Regions from separate parts of the Homo sapiens genome. Here region 1 is linked to region 2. Evidence: promoter capture Hi-C in 16 types of primary human blood cells and fetal thymus (Javierre and others, 2016). All regions are on one chromosome and are shown on one strand. Each heading gives the region's core, a stretch centred on a gene start or on the middle of the fragment in contact. The rest is flanking DNA. Distances are from core to core; before and after follow the strand shown.

Region 1 (4,896 bases), core at 2,148-4,647, 530 kb after region 2:
GGCGCATTCCACCAAAATAATTTTTGTATTTATAGTAGAGACAGCGGGGGAGGGTTTCACCATGTGGGCCAGGCTGGTCTCGAACTCCTGATCTCAAATGTAAATAGCCTTTTTAGAGTAGTTTTAGTTTCATGTGAAAATTGAGTGGAAGGTACAGGGATTTTTTATACATGCCCTGCCCCCACACTTGCATGGACTCTCCCATTATCTACATCCCCCACCAGAGTGGTACATTTGTTCCAATTAATCACTCAAAGCTTATAATTTACATTAGGCTTCACTACTGGTACTGTATATCCTATGGGTTTGGAAAAATGTATAATGCCAAGTATCCACATTTATAGCACATACACAGTAGTTCCACTGCCCTAAAAAATCCTAAAACCACATACTTTTAACCACATACTTACCCTAAGTGAAGCAGCAGCATGACCTAATTGTGCCCAAAAGCAAGAAGGGACAATACACAACCGAAGATCTCATACTCCTAATTTTTTTTTTCTTTTTTCTTTTCTTTCTTTTCTTTTTTTTTGAGACAGAGTTTCACTCTTATCACCCAGGCTGGAGTGCAGTGGCCCAATCTCGGCTCACCACAACCTCTGCCTCCCGGGTTCAAGTGATTCTCCTGCCTCAGCCTCCCAAGTAGCTGAGATTACAGGCATGTGCCACCACGCCCAGCTAATTTTTGTATTATTAGTAGAGACGTGGTTTTACCATCTTGGCCAGGCTAGTCGCGAACTCCTGACCTCAGGTGATCCACCCGCCTCGGCCTCCCAAAGTGCTGAGATTATAAGCGTGAGCCACTGCGCCCAGCCATACTCCTAATTTTTATAACCTTATAACCAAAGTCATTCCCCTTACAGGATATCAGAGTACAGATGGCTATTTTTGACAAGTGACATCAAAATAGTTTACATATCAGGCTCAATACCCTCACACACTGTTGGCTTCAGTCTGCCTTTTACAGATGGTATTTACCACCTCCAGGAAAATAGTGTGCTTCCTCGGGTTGCCTACAACATATGACAAAATAAAATTTCCCAACTTATCTAGCAAAAGTCCCATGAGCTCCAAGGGGAGGGGGCCAATGTTTTATTTATCTTTGTATCACAATGCCTACCACACAGTAAGTGTGCCCCCAAAACTTGCTGAGATGAAATGAGAGAAGCCAATGCCTTGGCCAGGTTTCCCAACTCTAAACCAGTACCTTCTCCCACTATTCTACATACTCAAATGTGGCATTCACTGTTATGAGCAGGTAGGATGTCATGTCTGCCCTGCCGTTTGTACCAAGAGAAATGGACCCCATTCTCAGCCTGAAAAGAAACTGGGGAGCTAGACAGGGATGACTATTCTCCAAGATTTACTATGTAGGTGGTCCTTTATTATCTCTCTAGCATCTTCCATGACCATGTGTACACTAATGCTGCAGTGCTTTTCCAAAGGCTGACTTTCCCCTACCCCAGCCTTCCTGGCAATTGGAAGAGCATTACTATCATATGCTTAAAGTAACAAAAAAGCCAAGGGTTACCTTAAGCAAGCTGACTTTCAGTCTGTAGAAGCCATTAAACTATCCCAAACAAACAAAAAAAAATAGTAACAAAAAAATTAAAATTAAAAAATAAAAAACTAATAACAAATCACTGAGACCTTGGTCTAAAGATCTTTATGTCTCCTCAGCCAGAGCCCCAGCCCCCAGTTCCCCCTCTCGGCTGTATTTCAAAGGCAAAGGCTAAAAAACAAAAATCACACATGGGCAGCATATGTAATCACATATAATCACATATAATGTCATGAAGTCCCAGGCATGACCCTGACAATCCACCAAGCTGGGTCCCTAACTTCAGTGCTATGTGAAGAACTTCTGTGGAAAACACATCCTTTCAAACAAAAGTTACAAATACCCTTTGCTGCCTGACAAATGGTCAGGATTATCACTTTTGCTTGCAGCAAACCTCTAGAGAAAATATGATCTTATCAATCAAATATTGAGGTCTGGCTTTAAATCTATGAATTCCTGGGGCCAGCATTACAAGAGGAGGTCCCTGAGGTTAACTAGCCTTCTCAAGGGTCCACCAAGGTTAGCTCAGTGAGGGCAGGACCATATCCAGTATCTTTACCAGAGAAAGTACTTTAGTATCAGGCTGGGAACATCATAGGCACTAAATAAAGAATAAACTTAAAAGGTGTTTACTATACTTGGCTGTTGAGAACAAGAATAATTTCAGAGGCATGCTAAGGTAGAAATTTGGTCACAATGTAAGTCACAAGTTGACTCTGAAATGAACTGGAAACAGCAAGTGAAACTATTCTACAAACCTAGTTACAGAAAGAACAGAGCCGTGAGAATGGGGATGCAATTTCAAGGGAAGTATTTTTGTTTGTTTTCACATGAGAAAGACTGGAGTGCAATTTTAAAGGGAGAAGCAAGTATATGATCCCTTTCATGAGCCCCTATTGTATTGTTAGTTGTTCAGTTCATTATTCATGCAACAATTTTTTATTGAGGACCAACTATATGCGAGGAACTGGTTTCAATTCTAGGAATACTTAGATGAACAAAATGTAATCTCAAGGTGAGTGTGTTCCCCCATCTTGAGTCTTAAACAAACTTCCTAGATTTCTTGAAGGAAACTCCCCGAGCTCCTTGGAATCCAGCCAGGGTTTGTCTACACTCTGCCTGAGAACACGCCATGAAGCCTTGCACTAGGGTCACCCAGCCTGTCACCCCTGTAAACTGGGTCATCCTCCAGGATGGAGCCTCTCTTGCCTTTGCATCCCCAGAGCCTGGCAGAGTATGAGGCAGGGGAGAGGAGGAGGAAATCTAGTGAATAGGCCACCTCCATACAGAAATGCTTGTTTTTAACCTTAGCAGGCTGTTTACATGCTAAGCATCTTGCCCAAAGTCACAGAGGTCAGGCCCAGGTAAGACTGGGAGAAGGGACCCAATCTCTTGAGGGTGATTTTAGTACCTGATTACATGCATTACAGTGACAACAGAGCACTGAACTCTCTACATATTTAGAACTAATATATATACTACAGAAACTTGTCTCAATGAATTGTGATGGGCTGTCACCACTGACTGAAATCTCAACTATCCCCTGAAATTCCTATGGCACTTTATGTTTTAGAAATACGTTTTAGAAACCCACTCCTGCCCTAGAGGCCATACAGACACAAGCTTGCTCAGGAGGGTGGACCCAGGAAGTAATCTTTCTTTCTCTATCCTGACAACTACACCAGGAAGTGGTTAAGCCCTCACATTGTTGTTTCTCTCTCTTTAGAATCAGGATTCAGAATAAGCAATTTCCTTTTTCATTTTCCCATTTCTCTCCAACACACCCTGAAGGCCTGCAGAGCAATGATGAGCTCACACTGCCCCCTCCTGCCCATTCCCTCCCTAACAAGGAATATATTCATTATTCCCTGGCCCTCATTTGCTCCCATTCCTGTAAAGAAAGAAAAGCAACAGAATGCCCCCACAAAAGTCAAATGTCTTTATTTTATATAAAAAAAATTTGTACAGTTTTAGTTCCTATGTTTAAGAAAAAAATCCTAAAATTGCCGTAATGTTTAGATCCACTGCAAACTGTAGAAACAAGCTTTTTATATATTAAAAAAAATTTACATTTTACAATTTTCTACATGCATGCACAAGGTCTCAGCTCTGTAACCCCACCCCCCCAAAAAAAAGGAAAAAAAATCTAGATCCAACAGTGGAAAATTCTACATTTACAATCTCACTTGGAAGGGACTCAAAAAGCCCTCTTCCTTTTGCGCACGGAAGAACAAATCACAACAATCACACACCAGGACTGAATCCATCAGCAGATACTGCCCTGTGGGAAGGGCAGAGGAAAGAGAAGACAGACGGACTGACAGACACCACAGAGGAACAGGGGAGTTAGCCTGGGACCAATGGAGGAGAAGTACGAACCCTGGGAAAAAGACGTGTCAGATGAGAAAGTTCCGGAGAGTCCGATGTCTCATCGCAGGTGTTACATCATCAGGGTTTGCCATTGGAATACTGAGTGGAGATGGGAAAGAGAAAAGTTAAGGGCTGAAATGGGAGGGGAATGGGAAGAAAAAATGAGAGACAAGAGGGAAATAAGAAAAAACAAAGAGAGCACAAAGACCAGTTTAGGAGAAAGGACCAATGGGGACAGTGGCAGAGTGGCGAGGTAGGTGAAGGACTGAGGCACAGCGTCCTGTTGTGGAGGGAGGAAAGGCAAGCGTTCCGAGGTGGTGAAAAGGAAGGCCTGCTAGGCACGGTGGGGATGAACGAGGATGCCATGAGTCACACAAAAGACAGTGCTGGTGAGGCCCAGCCACAGCAGCCCTATGGTGTCAAGGGGGTAAGAGGTGGGCATACCCCCACAGCAGGAGAATGAGCAGATCCAGCGCATGATGGGACAGACACAGTGGGGAAACTGCTCAGAGGGACTGAGTCAGCTGCACACCCCACAGCAGTTCACAGCATGGAGACAACTTCCCACAGGGGAGAAGCAGAGGACAAACACATGGCCATATGTCTGACAATTCATCCTGACATTTTAAAAAACAATAGTAATAATAATAATAATAATAATAATAATAATGAAAAAAGACAAAGATACCACAGTTCTGAAGCAAAAGACCAAAATGCTACCATTCTCAGGCACAGCCCTTAGTGCTTAGAGAGTTGGAGGCAAAAAATTTTTTTTAGGAAAGGGGAATGAAAAAAAAATCACAGTGATTAAAAACATGGCAGGATCTTAAAATAAACACTCCCCAGCCCCTAACCTAGGGCAGCAACTAAGATCCCAAATCCTTTCCCTCTCCCCCACCCCAACCTGCTCCTCAGACCACACCACACTCCATCCTGTCCACAAAGGCAATGACCCCAGTCACCAT
Region 2 (5,510 bases), core at 1,039-3,538:
TACGGTTGGTGTTCAGCTGTGGTGTGTGCCTACTGTGGTTTCAGTAGGCAGTGCTGAAAGGAGTCAGGGTGGGCTGGGAGTATGTGTGGAATGGAGAAATGTTTGTTAGCACACACAAGATGCCCCTTGGGATTATGGACTTAAAAGGGGACCAGAAGTCTCCTTACAATGGGAGGGCATGAAAGCCAGAGAAATTCCTGTCTCATTAATGCTAACTCACCATGACCCCTGGGCTGATGATACTCTAGGGAAGTATCAGTTATGTTAAAAAGAGTTAACAGGCTGGCTCGGTGGTTCACGCCCGTAATCCTAGCACTTGGGCAAGCTGAGGCAGGAGGATCAAGGTCAGGAGTTCTGGAGTAGCCTGGGTAACATGGGGAGACCCCGTTTCTACAGAAAAGAAAAGAGTTTTTTTTGTTTTTTGTTTTTTTTGAGATGGAGTTTCACTCTTGTTGCCCAGGCTGGAGTGCAATGGTGTGATCTCGGCTCACTGCAACCTCCGCCTCCTGGATTCAGGTGATTCTCCTGCCTCAGCCTCCTGAGTAGCTGGGATTACAGGCATGCACCACCACGACCGGCTAATTTTGTATTTTTAGTAGAGACCGGGTTTCTCCATGTTGGTCAGGCTGGTCTCGATCTTTTGACCTCAGATGATCCACCCACCTCGGCCTCCCAAAGTGCTGGGATTACAGGCGTGAGCCACCGCGCCCAGCCCAAAAAAAGAGTTTTTAATAATATGATGTTGATAATTGTACTGTGGTTATACATGACATATTCCTATTATTAGAAAACACACAGTTGGCCAGGCATGGTGGCTTACACCTATAATCCCAGCACTTGGGAGGCCGAGGCAGGTGGATCACGAGGTCACGAGTTCAAGACCAGCCTGGCCAAGATGGCAAAACCCCGTATCTACTAAAAATACAAAAATTAGCTGGGCGTGGTGGTGGGTGCCTGTAATCCCAGTTACTCGGGAGGCTGAGACAGGAGAATCACTTGAACCTGGGAGGCGGGGGTTGCAGTAAGCTGAGACCATGCCATTGCACTCCAACCTGGGTGACAGAGTGAGGCTCTGTGTCAAAAAACAAAACAAAATAAAAAAAACCCATACGCATTTATTTAAAGGTAAAAGCCCATGATGTATGTACCTTACCTTCAAATGGTTCAGAAAAAAATTTTGTGTGTGTGGGTGTATTTTATATACATATATCTATATATATATAGAGAGAGAGAGAGAGAACACGAAAGATAAAGCAAATGGGGTGAAATATTAACAATAGTTGAATCTAGGTAAAGGGCATATATGTGGCTTTATATTATTGTTATTTTTGCAACATTTAATAAATTTCAAATTGTTTCTAAACAGAGTTAATAAAACAATAAAATTACAGCAGGATACATGCAATAATTAGTGTTTGGACAGTGTATAGTGGGACAAAGGAAGGATCCATCAGCTTTGTCTGGTGATGGGGGTGTCAGGGAAGGCCTCATAGAGAAATTGGAGGAAAGATTGGAAGGATGATGTCTTCTTTTCCCATTTATTTATTATTATTATTATTATTATTATTTTGAGGTGAAGTCTTGCTCTGTTGCCCAGGCTGGAGTGCAGTGGAGCAGTCTTGGCTCACTGCAACCTCCACCTCCTGGGTTCAAGCAGTTCTCCTGTCTCAGCCTCCAGAGTAGCTGGGATTACGGGTGCACGCCACTGCACCCAGCTAAATTTTTGTATTTTTAGTAGAGACAGGGTTGCACCATGTTGGCTGGTCTTGAACTCCTGACCTCAGGTAATCCGCCCACCTCGGCCTCCCAAAGCGCTATGATTATAGGTGTGAGCCACTGTGCCTGGCCAATTATTATTCTTAATTAATTAATTTATTTTTCATGAGGTGTCACCTCAGTCTAAAAGGATGATTTCTTGACAGAGTTGTGTCTAGGGGGCCAGGGCATCTGGGGGAGGTGGGAGAGGGAGAACGCAGGGGAGGATTGTGACCTATCCACGAATCTGATTAGATACTGCTACATTGTATGGCCTGCCTTGGCAAAGCAGGATGCCCCTCCTCAGATGGCGACAGTCACCTGTGTGGCCAGGAACACAGCTCCCTGCTCCTCCAGCCAGTCGCACGTCCTTTCTCATTTCCACGGTCCCAGGCTCAGGTACCCTCAGAGGGAAGGGCTTCAGAGGGAGGGGCTAGCAGCCTAGGCTGCTCAGGGTTGGGCTGGGCAGGGCTCAGGTGGTTTGGCTCTCCACAGCTCTCCACATAAAGGGACCAGCACTTCACCCTTCATCAGGATCCTCTGCAGGGGAGCTCCGAGTGTCCACAGGAAGGGAACTATCAGCTCCTGGCATCTGTAAGGATGCTGTCCATGCTGGTGAGAAAAATGTTTTTGATCCATGTGTGTGGGAGCAATGATGCCAGCTCAGGTCTCAGTTTTAGAGATTTAGAGTTTCAGGGAAATGAGCCCATGGCCCCTTGGGTATTTGTAGTGTTGGACAGCCGTGGGGCATATTCCAGGAGGTTTTAGAATGCTCATGAGCCCATCACTTTCCATTTGAGGATTCCTGACTCAGAAAGGTTAGGAAGTAAGAACGAGAGGATGACAAAGGAAGGGCCAGCCAGTGACCTTGTGCATCTTGTTTTTCCTTAGAGGACAATGACCAGACTCTGCTTCCTGTTATTCTTCTCTGTGGCCACCAGTGGGTGCAGTGCAGGTAAATGGCTTCTGAGAGTAGGAGCTGCAGTTTCCTGGGCTCCCCTCTGCTGTGCAGGGCCTGGAGGGAGTAGAGCTGGGCAGGGCTCTGAAGTCAAGGGTCAAAGGGGAAGTTCTGGAGAGGCAGGGAACCCAGGCTAGGCAGCCAACTTGAGGTGTGGACTGGGTGCTGATTTCTGGCCTCTCCTGGGGTCTGGTCTGAAGCAGTCAGGGTGTTAGCTCAGGTATTTCCTAGGGCTTGATTCTCTGCTTCTGTGGCTGTGAGGGGTTCATGGGGTGAGAGAGTAAGAACTGTGTCCCTGCTCAGCTGCTCTTGTGGCCTTGGCCTTGGGATCTCCAGAGGCAGCTGGGTGATCAGTGCTGTGTCCAGGGTACACCCTCCTCTAGTCGCAGAGGAGGATATTGTGAGAATAGAATCCTCACAATTCTATTCTTCCAGTAGGCACAATAGTGATATTTTTTCATTGATACTGGGTTTATTGTTTATTTCAATCCATCAGTTAAAAAAAGCACATTTACATATGTCATCTCATTTGATCTCCATGCGTATAAAGAAGTTATTAATGACATCTTAAAGATGAAGAAAAAGGATCAGAGATGTTAAGTGTCTGCTCAAGGAGGCACTGTCATCAGGGTTTGTCTGGATTTTACCTTGAGTCCTGTAATTTTTTTTTTTTTAGACGGAGTCTTGCTCTGTTGCCCAGGTTGGAGTGCGGTGGCGTGATGTCGGCTCACTGCAACCTCCGTCTCCTGGGTTAAAGAGCTTCTCCTGCCTCAGCCTCCCCAGTAGCTGGGATTACAGGTGTGCACCACCACACCCCAGCTAATTTTTGTATTTTTAGTAGAGATGGGGTTTCACCATATTGACCAGGCTGTTCTTGAACTCCTGATCTTGTGATCCACCCTCCTCGGCCTCCGAAAGTGCTGGGATTACCGGCATGAGCCACTGTGCCTGGCCTGAGTCCTGTAATTTTACACTTTTTCCCGCTCTGCCAGGCTTTTGGAATGATTTCTAGGCTTTTAGACTTATATACATGGCCCTTCATCCACTGGCCTCTGTTAATTTTTCAGCTTTGGTTTCCAGACTTCTTTGTATTACAACATATGTTCCAGCCACAATAAGCGACTGACCTGTAGTTTTTGGCAGGCTGGGCTGGGCTGGGCTCTGTTATTGCTTCAGGCCATCTCATGTGCTTTCTTCTCTTCCTGGGGTGTACTCTCCCCTTTCCTTCCTGTCCTGTAGCCAGCTCCCATTCTCCCATCAAAATCAGCCTGCTCTGAGTTACAGCTGGTCCCTTCCCCAGCAGTTCCCAGGCCTCACCCCCGTTAGTGGGTTTGCCCTCCCATCTCAGTTGGGTCCCTTTCCATGTGCTCCTTCCTTGTAGAATGTAGTCTCTTGAAGAAATGTGTCAAATTGTCTTTGTCCGGTGTCTAGGTAGTTCACACAGTAGGTATTTAATTAAAATTAGTCGAGTGGAAGATTCCAGGTGTTTAACCTATACCAGCTGTTGGATCAGACCGTCTTAGCATAGGGAATCCCTGACCTCCTGGGACTTCAGAGCAGAGTGATGAGTTGATACAGGGGCAGAGATTGGCCAGGAAAGATGGCCTCAGTGGTCAGACTTCTAATGAGACTCATTCTCACATTTTCTAGCAGCAGCCTCTTCTCTTGAGATGCTCTCGAGGGAATTCGAAACCTGTGCCTTCTCCTTTTCTTCCCTGCCTAGAAGCTGCAAAGAAATCAAGGAACGCTGCCATAGTGCAGGTGGTGAGTAATGAACCAACTCAGCATTCTCTCTTTGAAGCCACTTTTTAGCTCAACAGAGCCCAGTCATGGAAATCAGGAGGGACATATCCATATGGAGCCTGTTCTGCCCCCAGCTCCTACTCAAGGAGGTTTCTAGTGGGAATTTTGAGGCTTTTGTGTCCCATTCCAGTCACAAAGTCTTCTGAACACAGAGAGAATGCAGTGTTCCTGGTGATGCTTATGGTGGTGGCAAGAACTGTGATGCGTCTGAGATTTGCCCCTACTTGCCCCAGGTTTATAGATGCTGGCAGAAAACCTGAAACTCCCGAGCCAGAGACAAAGAGCTTTATTAATCACAGAAATAGCAGTAGCCAGAGCATCAGCATTTTCTTGTACTGGGCCAGGTGACATCTGCCCAAGTAGTGGGTTTGTCAAGCTGGCTGACAAATGTGGCTGGCAAGGAAACAACAAACCCTTTTTAGAGCCAGAGAGTTTATTACTCACATAGCTAGCAAGTTCAAGATCGGCAAAAGTGTCAGCTTTTCCCATCCCTTGCCCCACAAGACAGCACAGAAAAGAGGGCGAGTGACAACACAACATGGGCAGTGGCTGAGGAGCCAGTCCATGCTGCCATAGCTGTTTCATAGCCTGTGTACCCTACGGGGTGGGGGTGAGTGAGGCAAAAAGCCTCATACCTCTTCAGAACCCAGGAGATGATGACACAGTTATGACAGCTGTCTCATGACAGCCTCCACGAAAGATGGGAAGGGGGGTGAGAAGTGACCTTGTTGCAGCTCCTCACAAGGTTCCCATCTTTCCATGTTTGGGGAAGACCACAGGCTTTCTGCCAAGACTTAGGTCAGCTGTCCCTATGTGGCCTATGCGCAAATGTGCAAGGTCACCAGGATGCCACCGTGGAGCCAGTCTCCTGCAAGCTTGTGAACAGGAGGGGAACTCTGAGCTTAGGGAAGCTGAATCTTATGAAGTGGGCACAACCTTTGCTCTGAGCTGCACAGAGGCCCTATCCTGCTGTAGAATCAGATGTGGCGTGTGC

What was found. Contacts are between HindIII fragments. The CHiCAGO score rates a contact against its expected background, and 5 or more counts as called.
Region 1: a fragment that was not itself captured here is called in contact with the fragment with the promoter of ITLN2 in region 2 in 1 of 17 cell types (M2 macrophages); the score reaches 7.1 in M2 macrophages.

The regions. Positions count from the first base shown.
Region 1 is chr1:160,427,260-160,432,155 of GRCh38, reverse strand. VANGL2 (VANGL planar cell polarity protein 2) reads right to left here. Exons shown (of 8, transcript NM_020335.3): 8 at 3,486-4,896. Among named protein-coding and RNA genes, the nearest start is that of VANGL2, 29 kb to the right of the region's middle. RefSeq lists an enhancer at 2,059-2,288. The HindIII fragment of the contact is 421 bases long and covers 3,187-3,607 here.
Region 2 is chr1:160,951,587-160,957,096 of GRCh38, reverse strand. ITLN2 (intelectin 2) reads left to right here and starts at 2,288. Exons shown (of 8, transcript NM_080878.3): 1 at 2,288-2,370; 2 at 2,647-2,710; 3 at 4,364-4,477. The coding sequence starts at 2,356. The HindIII fragment of the contact is 24,751 bases long and covers 1-5,393 here.